2 separate regions of the Homo sapiens genome follow, and region 2 is linked to region 1. Evidence: promoter capture Hi-C in 16 types of primary human blood cells and fetal thymus (Javierre and others, 2016). All regions are on one chromosome and are shown on one strand. Each heading gives the region's core, a stretch centred on a gene start or on the middle of the fragment in contact. The rest is flanking DNA. Distances are from core to core; before and after follow the strand shown. Region 1 holds the start of GCNA (germ cell nuclear acidic peptidase). Region 2 holds the start of NONO (non-POU domain containing octamer binding).

Region 1 (6,771 bases), core at 2,896-5,395:
AGATTGACAGGGACTTTGCTGGTGTAGTCTTTTTATAGGTTTTATAAACCACTTGAGCCTATATCAGTCGTTTTAGTGTCTGACCTAATATTTGGAGCTATCAGTGCTTTGTTGATTTAGATGATGACTCAAGATTTTTTCTGGTCCATTTCCCATTTCCTTTTCTTCCCTGACCCCCATACCCTCACCCTTAAAATTCTCCTGTAACTCAACTAACAAAATCAAGCCTGATTCAAAACATCCTAGGGTGTTTTAAACACACCATCTGGTGCCAAATGAAGATTTTTAGGAGTGATTACTAATTATCAAGGGCACAGTTGTGGTACTGTCATTGATAATAATATAGTTTTTTTTTTTTTCCTAATTTTGACCTGTTTCACCAGTGTTTTACCCTTGACTGCCCCTTCTATGCTGCTTCCAAAAGTGATAGTGTGTGTAAGATTTTTACCTTCCTTTCTAAAGTTTTTTTTTTTTTTTTTTAAGTGAGTCCTGTTCTTCCTATTTCTTTCAGCAGAAATGAAATCCCAGGTAAGTATAAGTATTCAAGTATTTGATCAGTAAGTCACAGTTATCTCCAGTGCATTAAATAACCTTCATCAAGAAATAGGTTATAGGTAAAATCTCTGAAGGATCATCTATGTATTCAAGTAATTATTTTTTAGATAATAACTGTCTTCTGGACTTGGTCTTGAAGTCTGTACAGATTCAGCCTCAGTAGTAGCGAACTGCACTGCTGTTTGGTTTGGAGTACAAATTAGACTTATAGTCCTCCTGGAACTTGAGTTATTAAAATCATAGGAATAAAATTATGGGATCTCAACAAAGGGTCGAGGGTTTGAGGCTTAAACAAGCCAACATATGAATATATGTTTTGTCTCGCTATACTGCACTTACGCTATCCAGTTGCAGGTAATTTTTTGTCTGCTAGTAGTGTTCTAGATTATGTCTTTCCAAAGCGCTGAGGCTGTGCACCTATTCTGTAGTTGCAGCTGATGCCTGAATGTATCCTAGCTGACAAATTATTGATTAATAAGAACTTGAATTTCTGGAAGATTCTTACTGTTAACCAAATTTTGAGCAAGGAGTCTCAAAGGTAATTCTGAACCAGAATTACATGTTAATGAACAGTGTACCTTTTAACAGTGTAAATCACGGAATATCCGTGAAGGGATTTCTTAATTTATTTTTTACCGGTTGATTGAAATATCAGTTAAAGGTTGCCAGCATGGTTGCAGATAAACTGATGTTTGAAATTCGCTGAAATACTTAATGTGGAATAGGATAATATACTTCCAATGCCCTCAAGGCTGTGACCTTACAGCCATTTTACATAGCACATCATTCCTCCTATAGGGATGAACTTTTTCCTGGCACGAAAAGTAGCCGCTCTGGTTGAAGCTTTGCTTATTGTAACAGGCTTTTATTTCCAGGTAATATGTCTTGGAAGACTTAATTCTGATTAGAGATATAGATATTACTGGAAACTAATTGTTTTTTTTCTATTGTACTCTGCTTTATCAAAGAAGTAAAACATTTAAATCGTACTACAGAAATTAAGATGTTGTCTTGCGATCCTTAATAAATGAATGATTTCCCTTTAATACGGCTGATGTATTTTGTATCCTGTTATATTGAGTGTTGGACTGAAGAATAGTGTCATCCAATGATGAAACCTATATTTAAACACCTCCAAACAGCATGAAAGGACCAAATTTCCCTACTGTAGCTATGATATTAGGAATTGTTTTCTCAGCCAGGTCTGGTAGAGGGTGGGGTTAGTTTATGATCCATTAAGAAGGCAAAGTGGCCTTGTGTGGTGGCTCACGCCTGTAACCCCAGCACTTTGGGAGGCGGAGGCAGGTGGATCACTTGAGGTCAGGAGTTCAAGACCAGCCTGGCTAACATGGTGAAACCCTGTCTCTACTAAAAATACAAAAAAACTAGCCGGGAGTGGTGGCACACGCTTGTAATCCCAACTACATGCGAGGCTGAGACAGGAGAATCGCTTGAACCCGGGAGGCAGAGGTTGCAGTGAGCTGAGATCGTGCCATTGCATTCCAGCCTGGACAACAGAGTGAGATGTCATCTCAAAAAAAAAAAAAGACAAAGCCTGTGATCCCCAACACACCCATTCATGCTTGCTCCTCTTTTGCTTGTGACCTCTCTGCTTTCATTTACCCTTGTAGTCTCGGTTTTCATGTGGACCATTCTTTTCTTGGCTCTTGGGGGCAAAATTATTTTCCTTCCTGCTCTGTATAGTGGTCGAACTCTGCCACAAGCATCAGGGAGGAAGATATCAATTCATGATTGATATCATGAATTGATATCATGGCAAATGCTGTTTGCCAGTTTTCTCAGATATGAGAGGGAAGATTTTTTTCAGTAAAATTTTGCATGATTTAATTCCCAACTTCTTAAAGCCCTCATGTGGATTGGTGTTTGTTTCCTAAAAGATTATTATGGGAAGAAAGCCTACTCAAAAGTTTTTACTCCCATTCGCTTCTCTTGAAAAATCTACATTATTTCCAGTCTACTTCAGCTCCTCCTGCCTTCAATCTAAAGGAGTTGCTTGCACACCTTGAGTAAATGTGTGTAATTTCTGAACTGCCCATTTTAAGATTTGATTCCAAACCTATCCCATTCTTTTACTTGAAGCATATGCCTCTCAATTATAGCTAACATCCTGGTTCTTTGCCCAAGCCTCTGAGGCACAGTTATGTAATCCCCATTCTTATAAAGAGGCTTGTAGAGGTTAATTTGCAACTTCATTGTAGAGAGAGAGAGTAATCAGCCCCCTTTATCCAATTTTTTTATCAACTGAGAAAGTATCTGTATTTAGGTAGGCAATCTGGTGCTTAAGAGCAGGTTTTGGAACTAGAGTTGGAGTTTGAATCTCAGCTCTGCCACTTTTTTTTTTTTTTTTGAGATGGAGTCTCGCCCTGTCCCCATGCTGGAGTGCAATGGCACGATCTCGGCTCACTGCAACCTCCGCCTCCCAGGTTCCAGCGATTCTCCTGCCTCAGCCTCCCGAGTAGCTGGGATTACAGGCGCGGGCCACCACACGCGGCTATTTTTTTTTTTTTATCTTTAGTAGAGACGGGGTTTCACCATGTTGACCAGGCTGGTCTCAAGCTCCTGACTTCGTGATCCACCCGCCTCAGCCTCCCAAAGTGCTGGGGTTACAGGCGTGAGCCACTGTGCCCGGCCAGCTCTGCCACTTTCTAGCTGTGTGATCTCTAAAATGAGAGTGCTAACAGTTGCCTACTTTTTAAAGTGTTGTATGAATTAAGTCGTAAGACACTTGGAATAATGCTTAGCACAAAATAGTATCAAACGCAGGGACATTTTATGTGTGTTCTGTTACCCAAAGGCATACATTACGAAATATATAGATGCTCGCTGGAGAAACTGGCACAATCTAGAAAGCGCTGTTTTCCCCGTTTGTTTTTCTTGGTGTGTATGGAGTGAGTGCCAAAAAGCCTCAAGTAACCTTTTTTTATCTCCAGGGTTTGGAGGGTTCTGGAAGTAAACATCATAGTTCGCCGTTGCCAGGCGCTGTTGAGTTGCTGCCTTGCTCTTATCTAGGGGTCTAGATGGCCTTCCCTGCAACCCCCGCCCCCCTGCGCTCCCGCGTCCCCCCGCGCCCCGCCCTCCCCTCGGTGTTCCCGTCCACGCCCCTGCTCCCGCGCCTTCGCTCCAGTTCTCGTGCCCCCGCCCCTCCCCCCGCGCCCTTTCCCAGTGGTTGCAATAACGGACTTAGAGGTCTGGACAATTCAAGTAAGGAACAAGGCTCGCTTATCCAAGTTCTCGCAGGATAAAAGTTTGTTATGAACGATTTCACATGGTTTCTCTTTATCAGAAAGTTGTTAGGGACTTTTAATCGCAGAATTGGCCTCGGGTGCCCACGCTCTAGTATTGAAATGGCGGTTTTGGGACAAATAAGCAACATCCGTGGGAGTGGAAAGCGACAGACCTGATCCCGGAAGCGTTACAGCTAGGCGCCAAGTTCACAGGCGCGAAGTTCAAATTTGTCTTGTGACCACTGTGATAGGTGGGTACAGGGGAGCGCGGGCGAGCACACGTGAATTACTGCTACCGCCCCCTAGGTCCGGGCACTATAAAGGGGCCTGCGCCTGGCGTTGTTCATCGCAGTTGCTCCGGATCTTTGCACACACTCCACGGGCAGTTGGAGGTGAGCTGCTGCCGGCCACGCCAGAGGCTGCAACACCAGGTAGGTGACCGGCTGGTCGGACTGAGATGGGTGCTGAAGTGGTCCAGAGGTTAATCCTAATTGAGTGACTTAATTAAAATCAGGACCACTGTATACCTTGGACTCTGGTTGCCCGTGTAGGCCTGAGGTGGGAGTAGAGGAAGTGGCAGCGAGGGGAGAAGTGGAGGCGCCAGTGGTAGCATTGGGGGAGGTGGGGGCGCCCATGGTGGTGTAGGAAACATATGGTGGCGCCAGTGGCGGCATTGGGAGGGGTGGGGGCGCCGGTGGCGGCGTAGGAGCAGCTGGTAGTGCCAGTGGCGGCGTGGGGAGAAGGGGCGCTGGTGGCGTCATTGCAGATAGTGGGGGGCCTGGTGGTGGCGTAGAAGGAGGTGTTGGTGCCAGTGGCGGGTGGAGAGAAGTAGGGGCACCAGTGGCGGCGTTGGGGGAAGTGGGGGTGCCTGTGGCAGTGTCGGGGAAGTGGGGGTGCTGGTGGTGGTGTAGGAGCATGTGGTAGCACCAGTGACGGTGTGGGGAGAAGTAGGGGCACCATTGGCGGCCTTGGGGGAAGTGGGAGCGCTGGTGGTGGCGTAGGAGCGTGTGGTGGCGCCAGTGGCTATGTAGGAATACGTGGCGCCGGTGGCGGCGCGGGGAGAAGTGAGGGCGCTGGTTGCGGCACTGGGGGGAGGTGGGGGCCCCAGTGGTGGTGTAGGAACAGGTGGTGTCCCTAGTGGCGGGTGGGGAGAAGTAGGGATGCCAGTGGCAGCGTGGGGGGAGGTGGGGGTGCCAGTTGCGGCCTAGGAGTACTTGGTGGCGTTGGTGGCATAGGAGCACATAGTAGCGCTGGCGGTGTGGGGAGAAGTGGAGGCGCCGGTGGCCGCATTGAAGGTGGGGGTGCCAATGGGGGCGTTGAGGGAAGTGGGGGGTTCTGGTGGCGGCGTAGGAACACTTGGTGGTGGTGGAAGTGGCCTAGGAGCACGTGGTGGTGCTGGTGGGCGTGGGGAGAAGTGAGGATGCTGGTGGTGGCATTGGAGGTGGGGGTGCCAGTGGCTGTGGGGAGAAGTGGGGGTGCCCGTTGCAGCATTGGGGGGAGGTGGGAGCTAGTGGTTGTGGGTAGGGGTGTGTGTGTGGGGGTTGAGGTCTCTTTGGCTGAGGACTGAGTGGTGGTGGGAGACAGGAGTGGGGTAGGGCAGAAGTTGGATAGAAGTGTGGGGGAGTGGAAGCCTGCTTGGAAAACCGGTTGGGAGCAGTTGAAGGTGGCTGGAGGTGGTTGGAGGTGCGAGTGTGGGGGAAGGGTGGTGGGGTTGAGGCCTGATTGGTGGAAGACTGAGGTGAGAATGGTGGGGGTAGGGTCCAGACCTGATAGGAGGAAGGAGTTGGGGAGGGGTCAAGGCCTGTTTGGTCGAAGATTGGCTAGAGGCTGGAGGCAGGAATAGGAAGCGTGGAGGGGGTGGCCGGATTCATATAAGACCAGTGAGAAGCCAGAGTGGCGGGAGGTAAGGGGGCAGTGGAGGTTGGACAGAAGGAAGAAGGTGATGAGGGGGCGGTGGTAGCCTATTCTGGGTAAGATTGACAGAGTGGGGAGTAAAGAGGTAGGGGAAGGGGGAGAGGTTGACACCCGGTAGGTGGGAGACTTCCTTGGGGCAGGAGTAGGGGGACTGAAGGTTGTAGGGAGGTGGAGGGCCAGTGGGATGTGGGGGCGGTCGAGCCCTGATACGTGGAAGACTGGCAAGTTGAGGTGGGAGTGGAGGGAGTGGGAAGTGGGGGCGGGTGCAGGGTGGGAAGAGATTGGGGTGGTAGAGGCCTGAGTGGGAAAAGTTTGCAACAAAACAAATTTAAATCCTTTTCATTTTGCAGAGCAAAGTTTCGGCTTTAAGGTGGGGAAGATACCCAAAGATAAATGCAGAATGTAAATGTAGAGATGTCTCTGCTTTTGAGTTCTGGCTTTCTTTTTTTTTTCTTTTTATTTTATTTTCTTTTTCTTTTTCTTTTTTGAGATGGAGTCTAGCTCTGTGGCCCAGGCTGGAGTGCAGTGGCACAATCTCGGCTCACTGCAAGCTCTGCCTCCCGGGTTCACGCCATTTTCCTGCCTCAGCCTCTCGAGTAGCTGGGACTACAGGCGCCCGCCACCACGCCTGGCTAATTTTTTGTATTTTTAATAGAGATAGGGTTTCACCGTGTTAGCCAGGATGGTCTCGATCTCATGACATTGTGATCTGCCCGCCTCGGCCTCCCAAAGTGCTGGGATTATAGGCGTGAGCCACTGCGCCCGGCCGAGTTCTGGCTTTCTTAAGAAAGTGTATCTTTGTCTTTCACTACAGACATGGATGGGTGCAAAAAAGAGCTGCCCCGCTTGCAAGAGCCGGAGGAGGACGAGGATTGGTGAGATTTAGAAAGTTCTGTTTTCTTTTAGTTTAGTGTTACCGTATTGGCAAAACAGCTTTCTCGAGAAGTATGTTTATTTCCTTTAGTATCTGTAGAGCGTATAACTTGGTTTGTTATAAAATGAGAATTGTAAAGAAGGATTTTACAAACTAGGAGTCCAGCCTCCTATGAAATTCTTG
Region 2 (6,771 bases), core at 3,075-5,574, 290 kb before region 1:
TCTCCTCCAATCTATTCTACACTCTGTTCCCAGGGTTATATCCATGTCCTCTTCCCTGGAACCTATCAGTGTTAATTTATATGGCAGAAAAGAAGGACTTTGCAGATATGATTAAGTTAAAGATCTTGAGATAGAGAGATTATCCAGGTGGGCCCTAAATGCAATGACAAATGTCCTGATAACAGAGAGAGAAATTTGACACACAGAGACGAGGAGAGGGCCATGTGATGATGGAGGCAGAGACTGGAGTGAAAGGGCCACAAGCCAAGGAATGCCGGCAGCCACCAGAAGCCAGAAGAGACAAGAAACAGATTCTCCCCTAGAGCCTCTAGAAGGAATATGCCCCTACCAACACCTTGATTTCATCTCAGTGATAATGATTTCAGACTTCTGTCCTCCAGAACTGTGAGAAAATATATTTCTCTTGTTTTAAGCCACCAAATTTGTGGTAATTTGTTACAACAGCCTCAGGAAACGAACACAGTGATTTTCTAAAATTCAATCCTATCACAGATGGAAAAAATGATTTTCTCTGTCTCTGTGTCTCTGTCTCTATATATCTATCATTCCATCTATATATTTATGTATCTATATATGTATGTATGTATGTATGTATCTATCTATCTATCTATCTATGTGTGTGTATACCTGGAAGAAAAAAATACCAAAATATTAAAAATTATTTCTGGACAGTGGGATTATGATGATTTTTATTCTTCTGTGCATTTTCCAATTTTTCCCTCAAAGAGCATATATTACTTTTATAATCAGAAAAAGCAATATAAATTATTTTTTAAAACCCTTCAATGGCTCCCCATCACTGACAGATTAAAGTACAAACTTCTAAGCATAGCACAGGGCCTTAATTTTTTGGTCTTTGCCTATGTCTCTAGCCTAACTTCCTATCACTCAGCACCCCCACTTCTCTTCAGCCATGAAAAACTACCCAAAACATGTATCATTCTGCCTCTGACACTTTGCACATTGACCTTTTTGACTTCATCCTCTTGGTCAAGAACCAATTCAGATCAGGCAAGGTGGTTCATGCCTGTAATCCCAGCACTTTGGGAGGCTGAGGCAGGAGGATGGCTTGAGCTCAGGAGTTTAAGACCAGCCTGGGCAACATGGCAAAACCACGTTTCTACAAACAAACAAACAAATTAGCCGAGTGTGGTCGTGAGTGTCTGTAGTCCCAGCCACTTGGAGGCTGAGGTAGGAGGATTGCTTGAGCCCAGGAGGTCAAGGCTGCAGTGAATTGTGTTCATGCCACTGCTCTCCAGCCTGGGTGACAGCCAGATCTTGTGTCAAAATAAATAAATAAATATATAAACCAATTCAAGGGTGTTCTTTCCTGCGAAGCCATTCCTGATCTACTCAAGCAGATCCATGTTACCCTTTACTGCTACTGTACCTCCAATATGCTACTATTATTTTATTTGTGTAAGGTATTGCAATTATTGGTTTACATGAACATCTTTACACTTATTTGATTAACAACGTATAAATTCATTAAAATTTTATTGAATCCATAGTGGTTTTTTGTAATTATGGATTTTCTCACTCAGCAGATACTAAAAACTATCATGTGGCAATCTGTAAAATGTTTGATATTAAAAAGTAGTCCTGGCCAGGCACAGTGGCTCACGCTTGTAATCCTAGCACTTTAGGAGGCCGAGGTGGGCGGATCACTTGAGGTAGGAGCTTGCGACCAGCCTGGCCAACATGGTGAAACCCTGTCTGTACTAAAAATACAAAAGTTAGCCGGGCGTGGTGGCAGGTGCCTGTAGACCCAGCTACTCGGGAGGCTGAGGCAGGAGAATGGCGTGAACCCGGGAGGCGGAGCTTGCAGTGAGCTGAGATCGCGCCACTGCACTCCAGCCTGGGCGACAGAGCAAGACTCTGTCTCAAAAAAAAAAAATTGGCTGGGCATAGGCACGGTGGCAGGCACCTGTAATCCCAGCTACTCGGGAACTGAGGCAGGAGAATCGCTTGAACCTGGGAGGCAGAGGCTGCAGCGAGCCGAGATCACACCACTGCACTCCAGTCTGGGCGACAGAGCGAGACTCCGTCCCGCCGCCAAAAAAAAAGTGGTCCTCCACTGGGTGCCCTGGCTCATGCCTGTAATCCCAGCACTTTGCCAAGTGGAGGCGGGATTCCTTACACCCAGGAGTTTAAGACCAGTTTGGGCAATATGGTGAAACCCTGTCTCTACAAAACATACAAACCCACCGTGGGCGTAGTTGTGCACTCCTGTAGTCCCAGCTACTGAGGAAGCTGAGGTGGGAGAATCGCTAGAACCTGAAAGGCAGAGGTTGCAGTGAGCTGTGTTTGTGCCACTGCACTCCAGCCTGGGTGACAGAGCAAGACTGTCTCTAAGTAAATAAATATAAACAGTACATACATAGAAAATAGAAACGCAAGAAAGTGGTCATAATTGCTATCTCTAGAGAATGAATGGGGGGGAGACTTTTTTTTTGAGACGGAGTCTCACTCATTGCCCAGGCTGGAGTGCAGTGGCGCAATCTTGGCTCACTGCTAGCTCCGCCTCCTGGGTTCACACCGTTCTCCTGCCTCAGCCTCCCGAGTAGCTGGGACTACAGGCACCCGCCACCACGCCGGCTAATTTTTTTTTTGTATTTTTAGTAGAGACGGGGTTTCACCATGTTAGCTAGGATGGTCTCGATCTCCTAACCTCGTGATCCTCCCGCCTCGGCCTCCCAAAGTGCTAGGATTACAGGCGTGAGCCACCACACCCGGCCAAGACTTTTCTCTTTATACTGTTGGGTATTGTTTGATTTTTCTTTTTTTTTCTATGAGTAAGTATTAGTTTTCTTCTTCTTCTTTTTAATTGAGACGGGGTCTCACTCTGTCACGCAGGCTGGAGTGCAGTGGCGCGATCTCCACTCATTGCAGCCTCTGCTTCCCGAGCTCAAGCTATCCTCCCACCTTAACCTTAACCTCCTGAGTAGGTGGGACTACAGGGACACTCCACCACGACAGGCTAATTTTTGCTTTTTTTCGGAGATGGAGTTTCGCCATGTTACCCAGGCTGGTCTCGAACTCCTAGGCTTAAGCGATCCTCCCGTCTCGGCCTCTCAAAGTACTGGGATTATAGGCATGAGCACTGCACCTAGCCGGAATTAAAAATTCAGGTTCTCAGTTGCATTAGTCATATTTCAATGGCCACTTATAGTTAGTAGCTGCCATATTGAACACAGCAGACATAGGACCTTTCCATCATTGCACACAGTTCTATTGAACAGCCCAAGTCTAGATCATTGTGTCCCCACATAAGGTGGTGCCCATTGGGATACCCTGCAACCCTGAGTGTGAATTAATTAATGGGAATTAACAACACATACTTATCAATTGATCCTTGTAGTCCTTGGTTAACCACGGGGGCGGGGCGAGTTAGGCATTACTGAAACAATGAAGGTTAGTTACTGATAGGCCTCCTATGGAATATACAGTCTGATCTAGAGGCCTACAATATATCCATGGCAATGATGACACCTGTTGAATCTCTCAGTAAATCATAGGAACAATAGTGATGTTTGGACTGCTAGGTTTTCTGGTTACCATGGAAATGAGGGTGCTGGTTACAATTCTGTGTAATCACGCAGAGCCTAAGGTATGATGCACCCCCTCCTCCCCCACCCCGTCTGTAACCATGACCAAAGAGTTGACTATTTCAGTTGCGTTTCCCGAGTAGCCCCAGCAACAGGAGAAGCATCTAGAAATATGATTAAGTATGGGGTGTCAGGATGCAAGCCCTAACAAGGAAGTGTGAAAAAAGAAACATGGCGGGGCATTTTTTTCAGTAGGAAAAGGCCAAATCTATTCCATTGAATACAATGACATTGTTACTCTTGCTTCTTGCACAGGCGCAGTGCAGGACTGCTCCGAGCACGCCTACGCGCGCATTTTCTCCCCTTCCTCTCCCTCTTTCCACTTTCCTCTCCCTTTTTCTCCTCTCCTTTCCCCCTCCCACCACTTGGTCTTTCAGTCTTTCAGTCAGTTCGTTTAGGTCTCTCCTTCCGACCCCCACCCCCAGCTCCTCTCCCTTTCCTTTTCCCCCTCCCCCTTTCCTTTCCCGTCTCACGCGCCAGGCCGCTTGCACATGCGCATTAGGTACAAAGCCTCGCTCTTTGTCCCCATCTGTCGTTCACACGAACTCAAGCCTTTGGCATTCGGCAGCCAATAGAATCTAAGAAATGGCGGAAAAATGATTCCGCCTCGGGAGCTAAACCTTGATTGGCAGTTTAGCTAACCAATCGAGAACGCCATTTTGTACCCCTTGGCAGGCACCGAGCTCCGTCGTCTCGTTTCCGGCGGTCGCGCGCTCTTTTCTCGGGACGGGAGAGGCCGTGTAGCGTCGCCGTTACTCCGAGGAGATACCAGTCGGTAGAGGGTGAGTTTTGGGACGTCTTGGTTCTTGTTTGGGAGGGTAGTGGGATTTCTTGGAACAATCAGCGAAGGAAGAGGCTAGGGCGAAGCTAGGTTTGGAGGGTGGATGGCGCTTCCGAGGCCCCTTGAGGCCTTGTCTCTGCCGCCACACTGCCTTCTCAGCCCACCCGCGGGGGGCCACCTTTCTCAACTCGCTTCGCTTCGGGCTTTCCCCATTTTCGTTCCTGCCCTGTTTCTTTGTGCAACTCATCTCCGAATCTTACCCGTGTCAGTAAGTTGCCGGCCTCTGAGCCGCCCTGGGCCCGACGGTGTGGGGTCTATTATGAGAGATCGCTGAAGTCGTGGTTGGTTAGAGGAGGAGGCGCTTTGTCGGGCGCTCCTCCTCTCGGCCCCGCGAGGCCATTAATTCAGAATGGGCAAGTGGGGCCCCTCAAGCGATATTTCTTTGTCAAAACTCTTAGCTGGAAAGTTCCTCTGCATATCCAGAGCCCGCCGCTTTCGTAGTCAGATTTCTGTATGCCCTTTTTCTAAAGTCCTAACCGCCTAGCTCCTTGACGCATTTATATAGCATCACTTTTTAAAATGAAACTTAAATTTATGGATTTCGCATCGAGTATTTTATTTTCCAGTTTGAGAAACTCTTACCATAACCTGACACGTTTCTTTGTGTTTTTAACAGAGAAGTCGAGGTTAGAGGGAACTGGGAGGCACTTTGCTGTCTGCAATCGAAGTTGAGGTAGGTGTAAGGAAGGGATAGGGTTGCCAGACAAAACACCGGGCACCCAGTTGAATTAGAATTTCACCTACACAACCAATTATTTTTAAGTATATGTTGCATAGTTTTCAATTAAATTTCAAATTTAATTGTGGGTTGTGTATTTTATTTGCTAAATCTGGCAACTCTAGTGGGGGGGCCCTGGTTATATTTATACTGTGTCCTTGTCCACCTTCCTTGTTATTAAATGAAAAGTCCTAAGAAACTCTTAGAGAAGGACCTTAGTTCATTTTACAGCTTTCAGGCTGGCCATCCAGGCAGCCATCTCAGTCTTGTAAATTTATACCAGATTTAGATTTCAGATATGTGTGATGTAGTGTTTGGTCCTCTACCTAAACATTTGTTTAACTGTAGCATGCCCAGTGGTTAGAGTCTTTCTCAACCAGCAATACGTGTTTTCTCTCAAAATTCTTCATCAGGATTATTAGTCTCAGGGACACAAGTAGACAGTAATCTTTGCTGCTGATCTTCGTGCTGTGTTCTCTTTTCAGAGGCCCAGTATTTAGGCGACAGTGAATTTATTACTCTGAAGAGGGTTCTGCACATATTTCCAAATTATATTGGTGGTCATCAGAAGTAGGTGATAGGAAGAAATACTTCTCAAGGTACTTGCTACTTGGTGGGCACTGTTATAGGTGCTTTATTATGATAGTCTTCACTAGTGCATTCCATCCTGGGCCTCTCCGGGGCCAGGGGAAGAGAGATGTTTAACACCTGGAACCCAAGTAGGAAAAGATTTGATTCTGATGCCCACCTTGCCCCATCCCCAACTATTTCCAGGGTGGACTTTAGATTTTGTATGTTTTAACTTCCTGCTTTTATATCTTATTTTTTAAAACACTATTTTCTTTTTTTGTTGTTTTTTTTTAAAGGTATCTCATTTGCCATGAAACTGCTACACCTGCTCATGGCGTTTAAAATCCTTACAACTTTTTGAGAAAACGACGTTGCACTATGTGGCAAGAGTCACAGGATAGATTCTATTTTTAAGAATTTATCCTATGGAAATAATTAAATGGAAATAAAGCTGAAAGCCAGAAGACATTTACTGCAGCGTTATAATAGGAAAAGCCAAAAACAACCACCTAAATGTCTTATAGTAGGGAGTAGTTTAGTAAAGTAGTACATCCTGGTGAACTTTATATAGTCATTAAAAATTACAATTATGTTGACATTAGCAGAAATGAGGAAACTCTGAATATACAAGGGTGCATTATCAGTTACTGAAATGATAATGTATGTCTAAATAAGCAAGAATGGAAAATTGTGGGAGGAATATTTAATCATGGATATGTCCAAAGATTTAGCTATGAGCATTGATTATAATGGTGAAAAATTAGAAACGACCCAGGTGTCCAACACAATAGGGACTTGGTTGACAACTGAATGCTGTGTCCGTTAACGTAAAAGATTTAATGACATGAAAGCTGTTTATGATACATCATAAAGTGGAAAAAACAGGTTACAAAATAGTATTTATCATATCTCATTTCAAATACATAAATTAATGACTAGAAGGATATACCAACATGTTAACAGTGACTATTTTTAGTGGCAGGTCTATGGATTTTTATATTTGTATTTTTATT

What was found. Contacts are between HindIII fragments. The CHiCAGO score rates a contact against its expected background, and 5 or more counts as called.
Region 2: a contact is called between the fragment with the promoter of NONO here and the fragment with the promoter of GCNA in region 1, in 1 of 17 cell types (naive CD4 T cells). The highest score is 5.4, in naive CD4 T cells.

What each region holds. Positions count from the first base shown.
Region 1 is chrX:71,574,292-71,581,062 of GRCh38, forward strand. It overlaps GCNA (germ cell nuclear acidic peptidase), which reads left to right and starts at 4,146. Exons shown (of 13, transcript NM_052957.5): 1 at 4,146-4,231; 2 at 6,529-6,589. The coding sequence starts at 6,531. OGT (O-linked N-acetylglucosamine (GlcNAc) transferase) reads left to right here. Exons shown (of 22, transcript NM_181672.3): 22 at 1-1,601. RefSeq lists an enhancer at 4,353-4,994. The HindIII fragment of the contact is 6,206 bases long and covers 1,397-6,771 here.
Region 2 is chrX:71,279,311-71,286,081 of GRCh38, forward strand. NONO (non-POU domain containing octamer binding) reads left to right here and starts at 4,325. Exons shown (of 12, transcript NM_007363.5): 1 at 4,325-4,411; 2 at 5,087-5,143. The HindIII fragment of the contact is 27,969 bases long and covers 1-6,771 here.